Linked DNA regions of Homo sapiens: region 2 is linked to region 1. The links are contacts of gene promoters, found by promoter capture Hi-C in blood cells and fetal thymus (Javierre and others, 2016). All regions are on one chromosome and are shown on one strand. Each heading gives the region's core, a stretch centred on a gene start or on the middle of the fragment in contact. The rest is flanking DNA. Distances are from core to core; before and after follow the strand shown. Region 1 holds the start of KCNQ1-AS1 (KCNQ1 antisense RNA 1). Region 2 overlaps KCNQ1 (potassium voltage-gated channel subfamily Q member 1).

Region 1 (6,723 bases), core at 1,128-3,627:
AGCCACGTGGGCTCCATGGAGGCCCTAAAGAGACCAGGCCTCAGCCCCAGGTGAGGCTTAATACCCCCTCTCCAGGCAGAAAGTAACCATTTCTTTTCCAGTGGTTCTCCAGCTTAGGGTCTCCAGCCAGACTGGCCGCTTATGGGCCAGGTGTAAAGAGAGGGACAGAGGGGGCAGGGAAGTGCGAGTGTTCTCAGGCCACTGGGGCCCGTCCCCACCCACACCCAGTCATCAGCCCCAGGGACAGCCAGGCCCTCCGCAGTGCAGGGTACACCCCGATTCTGCAGCCGGGCCCCAGGGCCCAGTGCTTCCTCCAGGCTGCCCCGGGCTCCCTCCTGAGTGGCAGGCCCAGGCCCGGACTCTGGCCCCAACCCGCAGGCTCAGAGGCAGCCCTGCCTTCCACAGACCAGGCCACGAGTTGCCTGTCACTCAGCTCTTCTGCCTGGTTGGTCACACTGAAAAGAGCATCCCGTGGCTGGGAGGCATGGATATCAGCTCCAACTCGGCTCAGGAAGCAAGAGCTGGAAACCCAGGCGCAGGAGGCATCTTCAGGCCCGGCGCATGCTGTGGCAGCTGCCCCAGGTCCTCCCAAACGCCACCTGCCAAACTGGCCCTCCTCCCCATCTGGGTTTAGCAAACTCCTACTCATCCTCCAAAGCCCAGAGCGAAAGGGCTCCTCTTCCATGATGCTCCTCTTCCAAAAGCAGCCCAGGGTCTCCCCTACGGCACTCAGCACCCACCGCAGACACTGTCTGTGTCCTTGAAGCTGATCTCCCTGCCAGACGGGCAGCGGCCCTCGAGGGCATTGCAAATGGGATGCCTGACAAGAACAACCCTTGAGGATTAGGAAATAGGGGTCTGCTGGAAGCCAATGCAGGCTGGATCTGAGACCTCCTGAAGACAAAGCGCAGGGAGCTGTGCTCATGCTCACACTGGGCATGGGGTTCACACTGTCTGCTGAGGGCTGCTTCCCTGTCCTGGAGGATGGGAAGGACAGAGGGGAAAGAGGGGCTCACCCACATCCTGCTCTCTGCACAGTGCCCCCTCCAGCGCCTGTCCACACAGACCAGCCGCACTGCAGTCCCTCAGAAGCCCTAGGGTTCCACCCCATCTATGCACCCTCTCCCTGGGTTCATGCCTGCTCCCCTGGGCCCACCCCACCCATGCGCCTACTCCCCCCACAGCCCACCCATCCCCAGAACCCTCCTTGCCCACATGCCACAGCAGTATACTTTTGAAGGCAACACTGAAGGTGGGGAGTTTCTGAAATCCTCTGTGCTTCCATCTCCTCTATGGGCGCACCCCAAGAGGTTGGGAGAGCGAGGTGCTGGTGCCCAGCCCAGCACAGATAGATGAGGCCACCGTCCAGTCTACTTCGTTTTTCCAGACATCTCACACCCATAACTGGCCTGAGGAACCTCATTCCAGCTTCCAAAGAACACGGAGTGCCAAGCACCACCACACCCCAGGCTCCACACCTCCCAGAACCCTTGTGGTAGGGGAAGGAGGGGGTTACTCTGCCCCATTTACCTAAGGGAAACTGTAAGGCCTGGATGGAGAAGTGCCCCCCCTCCAGCTCACACGGCTACCAGGCCAGAGACCTTTGCCCCACCACACATGTTGGCCCACAGATGAGGCGGTGAGTCATTCAGCCACATCACAGACGGGAGATCCCCTGCCCCTTGGGAGGAGCTGGAGTCCCCACACCTGGGATCCAGTGCCAGGCTTTAGCACGGACCCCTGTGTGCCCACACCCACCCTGTCTGAACCCCCCATTAAGGGACTCGTGTTTACACACCGGTCCCTGAGTCCCCGATTTCTGAGAAAATTAATTGGCAGGGTAATTCTCACTAGAGTGTTGTTGACTTCTCCATTTGTAGCTTGCTCTTTCTGACAGTATCTGCACTGCAGAGGGAGAACCTGAAGAAGACCTCACCTGAGCTCCGAGGTGTGGATTTCTGGGCAGATTTGAGACTTTGTGGCCCCTGCTAAGGGGATATAATTGAGGGTCCCCATAAATCATGACTCGGTCTATGAGGAACCAGCACCTAGCTGCATCCCCAGCCTCTTCCTTCTTCACACCCAAGCAAAACCCCAGGTTCCAGCCCCACCTAGCAGACTGAGGGCAGGCCATGGTCCCCCCTGCTCCATTCCAGACTCCACTCTGGCTTTTCTCCTTCAGGAAACCTCCTCATAACCCTCAGGCTGGGTCCGGGGCCCAGGCCCTACAGATGTGCTGGGTGCTGGTGCTGACAGACAGGACGGCAACCGTAGCTGGACCTCACCCTGGACAGCATCGCCACAACCCCCACTGGTCCACCTGGGAGAACAGAGACCCAGAGATAGCCACACACTGTCCTCTGTGCCCCTCATTGCCCCCCAGGCCTTTGGAGGTTCTGGGGGTGGCTACTGCAGTTTAATTTGGGCCACAACCCCTAATGAGCAGCCCAACGGCATGGGGGGCAGTTTGTAGGCACCCAGAGCCTGAGCAATGTGGCAGAAAGTCCAGGGGGCCTTCCAGGGGCCTCCAAGTGACCCAGGTATCTGGCAGAGCCCAGCTGGCCCCAGGGCTCCCAGTCCCGGCCTCCTGCTCCCCGGCCCATTGGCCCTGGCTGCAGCCTCAGTTGTACCAGCTGGGGAGTCCCAGATTTCCTGTACCACCACCCCACACACTTGGTCCCCTAAAGACCTGATACTGAGCTCTTGCTAATCATCTGGCTGTCACTAAGCTGCCCCACAACCATTTTCAAAGAGTCCCTGATTTTTAAGGCCCATAAAACACTGTGAAATGGCCTTTTTCAAACATTGAGGGCATTAATGACCATGGCAAAAACAAAAACCTGTCCAGGTGGCCAGTTTTTAGTAGCTCCCAATACAAAATTGCCCCCACCACGCAGCCCCCACCTGTCCACGCCCCCTCCACTTACCCACCCCGAGGGATTCTAGCCAGGACCCCTGCGTCCTGAGAAATCCTTTCCAGGAGTAGGCTGGGGAATACCGGCCCAGAGGGGCGAGGACCGGATGGGGGCAGGGGTAGGGTTCAAGGGGCCAGGGTCCCAGGGGCTCTCCTGGAGGCTGCAGAGGAACCCAGCCTGGGTGGGGGGCTCCGACGCTCCACAGCCTGTCCTGGCCCGGCCAGGCCCGGCCCGGCCCGGCCCCCTGCCCAGTCGCGGCACTGCCCGGCCCGACCCCCAGACCTTCGGGGTGCCCAGTCCGAGCCTGGGCCGCTAGGGGCCGCGGGCCTGGCGGGCGGGGCGGGGGCCGGGGTCGGGGGTCCGGCGAGCTTTAATGCGCGCACAAAGCCTCATTTGCAGGTCAATGCCGCGGCACACTCGCCTCTCCCCTCGCCCGGCGCCCTTTGTCCGGCCGCGCCCGCTCCTCGCGCCAGATGGCCGCGGAAATGCTAATTTCGGGCGCCCCTGCCCCCCCACCCCCGCGTTTAATTGCGCCTTTGCAGATGGGCCGCGAGTGTGCGCTTCATGCAGATGAGCGCGGCCTCGCCGCCTTCCTCGGACCTCCGGGAGCCGCGGCCGGGCGTGCTGGGGCCGAGGGCAGGGAGGGGGCCGCTGTCCCTCCACTCGACGCGCCGCCGGGCACGGGCGGGCACCCAGCGGCCCGGGCCCGGGAAGCGCGCTTCTCTCTTTTCATTTCTCCAAAATGGGATCTTAAGTGATTCTGAATGAAAACAAATTGGCCCGCTTTCTTCTCCAAACAGACGCGCGGCGCGGTGGGGGCGGCGGGCGCGGGCCCGGGGCGGCCCGGGCGGTGGGGTTGGCTCCGGGACCCCCTGCCCGGCCCGGCCCTCGCGCCTTCTCCCCGCGGCCCGCCTTCCTCAGCCCTGGGCCGGCGGCACTTGGAGGCGGCCGGGCAAGACGGCAGACGTGGGGGCCCCTTTAACCGGAGCCAAGGATCCCCGGACTTTCTGACCAACCAGGAGCAGAAGCCCGCCAGGTCACCCTCGCCTTTCATGACAGAAACAGATTCCCAGGCTGGTCGGAGCGCAGAAATGAGGCAGGCCAGGGCCGGCCTCCGCCACCCCGCCCATCTCCAGCCCCAGCAGGAGCCTGGCCCAGGCCTCTGGCCCCACAGCGCCAGGGAGCATCCTCCGGGAGCCCAGGCCTGCCTCGAAGCCTAGGGCTGGGGCAGGCTGGGCAGAGTGAGGGAGGGAGGCAGTTTCTTTGTGATGTGTCCACTTTACTAGCAAAATTTCAACCACAAACTTAGAAAACCTATACATTGGTGGGTGATTCACTTGCTCCACCACCAGCGATGAAACAGAGACAGAGCCACGTTCTGGGTAAGTAAGAATACTCCCAATACAAAACTCAGCCACAGACCTTTAAAAAGAAAAGGGTGCCGGGCGCGGTGGCTCACGCCCGTAATCCCAACACTCTGGGAGGCCGAGGCGGGAGGACTGCTTGAGCGCAGGAGTTCCAGTCCAGCCTGCACAACCTGGCGAGGTCGCATCTCTACAAAAAATCTTCTGATTTTTTTAGCCAGGCGTAGCGGCGCGCCTGTAGTCCCAGGAAGGATCACTTGAGCCTGGGAGGTGGAGGCTACATAGAGCCATGACTGTGCCACTATACTCCAGCCCAGGTGACAGAGTAAGACCCTATCTCAAAAAAGAAAGAAAAAAAAGAGAAAGAGAAAGAAAGAGAGAAGAAGGAGGAGGAGGAGGAGGAGGAGGGAGGAGGGAGGAAGAAAGGAAAGAAAGAAGAAAAAGAAAGGAAGAGAAAGAAAGAAAAAGAAGAGATAAAGAAAGAAAAAAGAAAGAGAAAGAAAGAAAGAAAGAAAGAAAGAAAGAAAGAAAGAAAGAAAGAAAGAGAAAGAAAATCATCTGTTCCTGAAACATTCTGTGATACTTTCGTAATTTGCTCAGCCAGAGGACTGAAAGTGCAGGCGGATCCCTCAGCCTTGGGCTCAGCTGGGACTGAAGTCAGCTGACAGAGTGAATCTGGCCCAACTGCCACCAGTCTGACTCTGGCACCCTGGCCCTGGCGTGACCTTCACAGCCGCACCCCCCACCCCCCACCTCCGCCTCAATGCCCACCCTCCAGCTCCACATCACTGAGCCTGCCCTGCTGCGCCCTTGCACGGGCACCCTGGCTGCCAGCTCTCCTCCACCCATTCCTCCTCTGAGTGTCCTCAGGCCCCTCAGGGGCTGCTCTTCCCTGGACACCCAGGAGCCTCAACCTTTGCCCTGTGCCACACCTCCCTCACCTGGCTCTTGAAAGGAGTCCCATCCACCTTCCCCTCAGGGTGAAGCTCAGGGCCTGGCCCACACCCCTGCTGGTACTCAAGGCCCACCTGGGGGACCTAATGGGGGGTTCCAGTAGACACCGAGGCCGAGGCCGGAGGGCTCAGCCACCCTTGTCACCCATCCTGCAGGGCACTGTCTCATGGGTGCCAGCACAGTGACATGCCGTGGGCTGGGGGAAGCTGGCTCATAGAATATGCACGGCCAGGACGCACCGTGGAAATTTCCATGGTCACGGGATGGAAACCATTTCCTATCAATAAAATAACAGGTGCCCCGTCAGAATCCCCCTTTCATTTCTTTCCAGGAAACAGTTCAAATGGGATGGTTACACCCATTTGAGACAAACATCTCTTGGTCCTAACCCCTTGTGGTTGCTTCATTAACCAGAGGCCTCCATCTTCCTCTGGGGAAGACAGTGCAGCCCAGCTGCCCTCCGCCTCCAAACCCTCCCTGGGCCCTGAGGTGCCGTGTGGACCCACTGCTGCAATCGCCATGTTCACCCCACACTCGAGGGTAGACCCAGAGCATTTGAACTGTCCTCGTACTCCCTCGGCCACTTCTCAACAACAGCGCATTCCCAATCCTGTAACCTGGGGCCTTTCCCTAACACATTTAAAAGACGCCAGCCGCCTTCTCCCGCCCTAGCACTGTCACCAGCTGCTTGTACTCAACTCTCTGCCAAACTGTTACTTTGTTTATCACACTCAGATTACGGGTCTCTTGAACAGTTTGTTATGGTTAAATACTTTCAATTAAAACAGTATATGTTTGTGTGTGTGTATACAAATAGATAGACATTCTAATACTTTAAAATAGGTACTTTGAGCTGGGCACAATGGTGCACACCTGTAGTCCCAGCTACTCCAGAGGCAGAGGTGAGAGAATCTCTTGAGCCCAGGAGTTCCAGTCCAGATTGGACAACATAGCAAGACCCTGTCTCTATTAAAAATATACCTTTATGCCAGATGCCTATAATCCCAGCACTTTGAGAGGCCGAGGCAGGAGGATCACTTGAGCCCAAGAATTGGAGACCAGCCTGGACAACATAGGGAGACCCTGTCTCTACAAAAAAAAAAAAAAATTAAAGATTAGCTGGGCATGGTGGCACACACCTATGGTCTCAGCCACTCGGGAGGCTGAGGTGGGTGGAGGGCTTGAGCCCAGGCGTTGGAAGCTGCAGTGAGCCATGATCGTGCCACTGCACTCCAACCTGGGTGACAGAATAAGATCCTATCTCAAAAAATATTTTTTAATTAAAATAAAATATGTGCTTTGGACTTAAAAAGTAAATGTGAGTCCCATAGATGTAAAATGATATAGAGCCCCAAAGTGCCATCTGCGCTTATCTCAGGATAGCAGCATCTATCTGGGGGAATTTTTACTGTCTTTTTTATACATTCCCATATTGTTTGCATTTTTTTTTTTTACAATGAGCATATGCTGCTATTTCTACAACCAAGGGA
Region 2 (6,891 bases), core at 1,638-4,137, 220 kb before region 1:
CCTTCCGTTGGCTAGGAAAGGGAATTCCCTGACCCCTTGTGCTTCCCAGGTGAGGCGATGCCTCGCCCTACTTCGTCTCACACTCAGTGGGCTGCACCCACTGTCCTGTACCCACTGTCTTGACGAGCCCCAGTGAGATGAACCCACTACCTCAGTTGGAAATGCAGAAATCACCCATCTTCTGCGTCACTCACGCTGGGAGCTATAGACTGGAGCTCCTCCTATTCGGCCATCTTGGAACCACCCCACTTACTGCAATCTTTAACTCCCAGGCTCAAGTCATTCTCCATCCTTGACCCCTCAAGTAGCTGGGACTACAGGCATGCACCACCATGCCTGGATAACTTCTTAATTTTTTGTAGAGACAGGGTCGTGCATTGTTGCCCAGGCTGGTCTTGAATTCCTGGGCTCAAGCGATCCTTCTGCCTTGGCCCCCCAAAGCACTGGGATTTCCTTTTTTTTTTTTTTTTGACCGATACATAATACTTATGGGGTACATGTGCTATTGTTACATGCATCGAATGTGTAATGATCAAGTCAGGGTATCCATCACCCTCAATTTATCATCTCTATAGTTAGGAACATTTCAAGTCCTCTTTTTTATTTTGAAATATACATTATATTGTTAAATATAGTCAACCAACTCTTATCAAACATTATAAATTATTTATTCTAACTAGCTGTGTATTTTTACCCACTAACCAACCTCTCTTCACCCTCCAGACATACCTTTCACAGCCTTTGGTATCTATCCTTCTACTCTCTACCTCCATGAGATCAACTTTTATAGCTCCCACATATGATAATAACATAAGATAATTATCTTTCTGTGCCTGGCTTAAAATAATGACCTCCAGCTCCATTCATGTTGCTGCAAAGGACATGATTTCATTCTTCTTTGGTCAATTAGTATTCCATTGTATATATTTACCTCATTTTCTTTTTCCATTTATCCACTGATGTACACTTAGGTTCCTGAGTCCATATCTTTGCTGTTGTGAATAGTGCTGCAATAAACACGGGGATGCAGGTACATTTTTAGTATACTGATATCTTTTCCTTTAGATAAATATCCAGTAGTGAGATTGCTGGATTATGTCATATTTCTCTTTTTAGGTTTTTCAGAAATCAAACTGTTTTCTATAGTATTAATTTACATTCCCACCAACAGTGTATAAGAGTTCCCTCCACATCCTCTCCAGCATTGGTTAATTTTTGTCTTTTTAAAATAGCCATTCTCACTATGGTTTTGGCTTGCATTTCCCTTATAATTACTGATGTTGGGCTTTTTTTTTTAAATATACCTGTTGGCTACTTGTATGTTTTCTTTTGAGAAATATCTATCCATGTCTTTTGCTCACTTTTTATTGGAATTAATTTGTTGTTTACTATTGAGTTATTGGAGTTCCTAGTATATTCTGGTATTAGTACCTTGTCAGATGAGTAGTTTGCAAATATTTTCTCCCATTCAACAGGCTGTCTCTTCACTCTGGTGATTGTTTCCCTTGTTGTGTACAAGCTTTATCATTTAATATAGTCCCATTTGTCTATTTTTGTTTTTGTCTGTGTTTTTGAGGTCTTATCCATAAAATCTTTCCCTAGACCAATGTCCTAAAGTGTTTCCCCAATGTCTCCTTCATTAATAGTGATGTTATAGTTTCATGCCTCATGTTTAAGTCTTTAACCCATCTTGAGTTGATTTTAGTATAGCAAGAGATAGAAACGGTTTCATTTTTCACATGGATATCTTATTTTCCCAGCTCCATTAAGTGAAGAGGGTGCTCTTTTCCCAGTGTATGTTCTTGGCATCTTTGTCAAAAATCAGTTGGCTGTAAATACATGGATTTACTTCCAGGTTCTACTCTGTTCCATTGGTCTATCAGTTTTTATTCCAATACCATGCTGCTTTTAATGCTATAGCCTTATATTTTTAAATCAGGCAGTGTGATGCATCCAACTTTGTTATTTTTGCTCAGAATTGCTGTGGCTATTCCAGCTCTTTTTTGGTTCCATCTGAATTTTAGGATTTTTTCTATTTCCATGAAAAATGGCATTGGTATTTTGAGAGAGACTGCATTGAATCTGTAGATTGCTTTGGGTAGTATGGTCATTTTAATTTTGTTAATTCTCCCAATCCATGAGAATGGGATGTTTTTTGTGTGTTCTTTTCAATTTCTTTCATCAGACTTTTGTAGTTTTCCTTGTTAGAGGTTTCTCACCTCTTTGGTTAAACTCATTCCTAGATTTTTTGTAGTGGTTGTAAAAGATAATGCCTTCTTGATTTCTTTCTCAGCTGGTTCTTTATTGGTATATAGAAATAAGCCTGATTTTTAAATCCTGTAACTGTAATCAATTTATTGATCAGACTGAAGAGTTTTGATTTTTGTATTTCATGGTATGAGTTGTAATATCCCCTTTTTCATTTTTGATTTTATTCATGTAGGTCTTCTCTCTTTTCTTCTTGGATAGTTTAGCCACTGGTTATTTTGTTTCTTTTCAAAAACCGATTTTGCATTTCATTGATCCTTTATATTTATTTAGTTTCTTGTTTAGTTCTGCTCTGATCTTCGTTATTTCTTTCCTTCTACTAATTTTATGTTTAGTATGGTTTGTTCTTGCTTTTCTGGTTCCTTCAGGTGTATCATTAGATTATTTAAGATCTTTTCTACCTTTTTTAATGGAGGCATTTATTACAATAAACTTTCCTCTTAGCATTGCTTTTGCAGTATCCCTTAAGTTTCAGAATGTTGTGCTTCTATTTTCACTTGTTTCAGTAAATTTTTTATTTCTGCCTTAATTTCTTCTTTGACCCATTGGTCATTCAGGAACATGTTAATTTCCATTTATTTATACAGTTTTGAATGCTCCTCTTATTTATTTATAGTTTTATGCTATTGTGGTCTGAGAAGATATGTGATATGAATCCAATTTAAAATATATATATATTTAAAATCATACTTAGTGTCCTAACATATAATGTATCCTGGAGAGTGTTCCATGTACTGATGAGAAGAGTGTATATTCTGCAGCTGTTTTATGAACTGGTCTGTAAATGTCTGTTAGGTCCATTTGGTATAAAGTGCAGTTTAAATCCAATGTTTCTTTGTTAATTTTTTGTCTAGATGATCTGTCTAATACTGGAAATGGAGAATTGAAGTTCCCAAGATTATTGTGTTGAAGTCTACCTTTCCCTTCAGATTTGATGTTTGCCTTATATATCTGGGTGCTTTGGTGTTGGGTGCATATATGTTTAGAATTGTTATATCCTCTTGGTCAATTGATCCCTCTGTCACTATATAATGACTTCGTCTCTTTTTAGTGTTTTTAGCTTAACCTTTGTTTTATCTGATGAAAGTATAGCTACTCCTGTTTGGTTTTTGTTTCCTTTTGCATGTAATATCTTTTCCCATTCCTTTCTTTCAACTATGTGTCTTTACAGGTGAGATGCGTTTCTTGTAGATAGCATTTAGATGGGTCATGTTTTTAAGTCCATTCAGCCAGTCTGTCTTTTAAGTAGAAAGTTTAATCTATTTATATGCAAGGTTATTGTTGATATGTGAGGGCTTATTCCTGTCATTAATTGATTTCTGATTATTTTGTGTGCTTTCATGAAGTTGTCCTTTCACTTCTTCCTGTAAGACTCCCTTAAGCATTTTTTGTAGTGCCAGTGTAGTGGCAATTAATTCCCTGAGCTTTTACTTTTAAGGGAAATACTTTATTTCTCCTTCATTTCTGACGAATATAACTTTGCTAAGTACAGTATTCCTGGCTGGCAGGTTTTTGGTTTTGTTTTTTCTTTCAGCACTCTGCGTATATAATCCCATCCTCCTGGCCTGTAAAGTTTCTGCTGAAAAATCTGTTAGTCTGCAGGTTGTTCCCTTGTAAGTGTCTACAACCTCTTTTATCGCTGGTTTTATGATTCTCTCTTTGTCTTGGGATGGGCAATTTGCTATAATGTGCTGTGGAAAAGACCTTTCTGAATTGTATCTATTTAGGGTTCTGAGATTCCTATATTTGGATCTAAATCTCTTGGGAGATTGGGAAGTGTTCAGGTATTATTTCATTAAATAGGTTTTATAATCTTTTGGTTTGCTCTTCACCTTCTGGGACACTGAAGGTGTCACCTTATGGCATCCTATAGTCACATAGCCTTTGTTCATTCTTTTCTATTTTTTCTATATTTTTGTCTGAGTCATTTCAAAAGACTTATCTTCAAGGTGTGAAATTCTTTCTTCTGCTTGTTGTGGTCTGTTATTGAAGCTTTCAAATATGTTTTTTATTTCATTCAATCTATTATTCAATTCCAGAATATCTGTTTGGTTCTTTTTATATCTATCTCTTGGGCAAATTTCTCATTCATACCCCGAATTGTTTTTTCTGATTTCTTTGTATAGTCTATCAGATCTTCTTTAATATTATATTGAATTTTTCAAGGTTTCATCAATTTCTTTTTCACTGGAATCTGTTGGAGAATTATTGCATTCCTTAGGAGTTGTCATGTTTTGCCTTTTCATGTTTCTTGTGTGCTTACACTGGTATCTGCACATCTGGTGTAACAGTAGTTTCTTCCAATTTTTTGATCTGTCTTTCCTAAGAGAGTCTTGTTCCTGAAGATATATCTATGGTGTTCTTTGGGCAGGGCACTTTGGTTTTGATTCTGGGTGCCTGCAGTAGTGTGATCTCCATGGAATTTTTTTCAGCTGTAAACAGCACCAGTAGTGTCTGGGAGTTCCTCTGTAGTTTAGGATGCAGTTGTTGGTGGAGGCTGTGGTAAAGTCTGGCTGGGGATAGGGACACCAGCTGGGCCAGTCCTCAGGCCCCAGTGGCAGCAGTGGCTGGCCCCGAATGCTTATCCTTGGGCCCAATGGTAGTGTATGCTGGTACCAGTGTTAGCAAGTCCAGGGAAACCAATTTTGGGCCTCCAGGCAACTTGCTCAGGTGCCAATGATGACAGAGCTGGGCCACAGGGTGGGTAGGTCCTTGAGCTCTGAGCAGCAGATATGGCTTGGGCAATGGCAGTAGCAGTGGCAGAACAATCTTCTGCCTCCCAAGGTGTCCATGCTGGTATTGGGATGGCTGGGATAAGCTGGATGAGCTTGTCCCAAGGCCCACAGGTGGCAAATTCAAGTGAATGCCAGTTGTGGTGGTAATGGTCAGTTGGGTAGGGCAGTCCTCAAGCCCCCAGGAGTGCTCAGGTGCCAACAATACTGGATAGGGCAGGGTGATCCCTAGGCCCAGAGATGGTATGCGCTGGCACTGGGAGAAAAGAGGGTGGGACCAGGCCAGGTGGGCCTGTCCTGAGGCCCTCCAGTAATGCAAGAATGTACTGACTGTGGTAGGCAGGCACAGGAAGATCCCTGTATACCCTGCTGAATGCTCATGTTGGGGCAGCAGCAACTCTATTGCAGCCCTACTCCTGGGGAAGTTGAGTGGGATTGCTTTCAGTGGCAGCAGCTATAAACAGGCAGTTGGGCAATGCATGCTTCGGCCCCAGGTGGTGACTATGGGCAGGGTCACCTTTCCTCATGGCAGCCTTGCTTCGGAGGTAGCAGAGTATTGCCAATGGCTCATGCTTTGGCCTGGAGGGAGCAGTCAGGAGTGGCAACCAGCTTTGTGTAAGGGATGTCCATGGGGCTCCAGGGATGAGATAGAGGGATGTGGGGCCCACAGCAGATGCAGTCTGGTGGGGGTTGGGCTATCAAAATGGGACTTTCCTGAAGTTGCCTGAGGATTCAGGGGATGTGTGAATTGCCTGAGGATTCAGGGTGATCTCCCTCTCTGGGAGCTGTTCATTGCCATTTCACAGTCTGTAGGTAGCCTCTTGTTAGTCTCAAGGCATCTATGGGTCAGGGGGTTCTCTGACTAGGATTTCAGGAGTCTGCTGTGGGAATGTGGACCACTAGGGGCTCACTTACTTACCTTTCTGCACATCGAGGAGTCTCTTCATGATCCCAGCCAGTCCCATAGAAGCAGACTGCCTGACTCCCCTCTTATCCCTTGCATTGGGTTTTTCTTATTACTTCTCAGTTGAATTCCAGCATTCTCTCAGAGGCGATCTATATAAACTGTGGTTACCTACTTGCTATATTTTGTGGAGGAGGTGAGTGCCAGATGCCTCTAGTCAGCCATCTTGAAGCCCCTGCTGATATCTGGATAGGGATTTCATAGCATCTGTATATTGCTATAGGTAAATATGATCATTTTAACATTTTTCTTTCAATCCATGAGCATGGGATGTCTCAAAAAATTTTGTAGCCTCTTCAATTACTGTTATCAGTATTTTATAGTTTTCATTGTGGAAATCTTTCACCTCCTTGGTTAAGCTTTGCTTTTTTTTGTAGCTATTGCAAATGGGATTGCTTTCTTCATTTCTCTTTTGGCTAATTTGCTGTTTCACAGAAATGCTACTGATTTTTTGGGGGAGGCAGGGGAGTGCAGACAGGGTCTCACTCTGTTGCCCAGGCTGGGGTGCAATGGTGCAATTTCTGCTCACTGCAACCTTCACCTCCGAGGTTCAAGTGATCCTCCCATCTCAGCCTCCTGAGTAGCTGAACTTCAGGTGCAGGCCACCACGCCCAGCTCATTTTTGTACTGATGAGGTTTTGCCATGTTGCCCAGGACAGTCTCAAACTCCTGGGCTCAAGCAATCCACCCGCCTCATCCTTTCAAAGTGCTGAAATTACAAGCATGAGCCATCATGTCCACACCTACTAATTTTTGTTTGTTGATTTTTTTATCCTGCAACTTTATTGAATTCCTTTACCAGTTCTAAAAGATTTTGGTGGAATCTTTAGGTTTTTCTATGTATAAGATTATGCCATCTGCAAAGGACAATATGACATTCTCTTTTCCAATTTGGATACCCTTTTTCTTTTACTTGCCTAATTGTTC

Evidence for each region. The method cuts DNA at HindIII sites, captures the fragments that hold promoters and counts their contacts. A CHiCAGO score of 5 or more calls a contact.
Region 2: a contact is called between a fragment that was not itself captured here and the fragment with the promoter of KCNQ1-AS1 in region 1, in 2 of 17 cell types (M2 macrophages and megakaryocytes). The highest score is 5.7, in M2 macrophages.

The regions. Positions count from the first base shown.
Region 1 is chr11:2,859,192-2,865,914 of GRCh38, forward strand. KCNQ1-AS1 (KCNQ1 antisense RNA 1) reads right to left here and starts at 2,378. Exons shown (of 3, transcript NR_130721.1): 1 at 1,799-2,378. RefSeq lists an enhancer at 3,768-4,465. The HindIII fragment of the contact is 10,846 bases long and covers 1-6,723 here.
Region 2 is chr11:2,640,109-2,646,999 of GRCh38, forward strand. All of the region lies in intron 10 of KCNQ1 (potassium voltage-gated channel subfamily Q member 1), which reads left to right. It overlaps KCNQ1OT1 (KCNQ1 opposite strand/antisense transcript 1), which reads right to left. Exons shown (of 1, transcript NR_002728.4): 1 at 1-6,891. Among named protein-coding and RNA genes, the nearest start is that of KCNQ1OT1, 56 kb to the right of the region's middle. The HindIII fragment of the contact is 2,741 bases long and covers 1,518-4,258 here.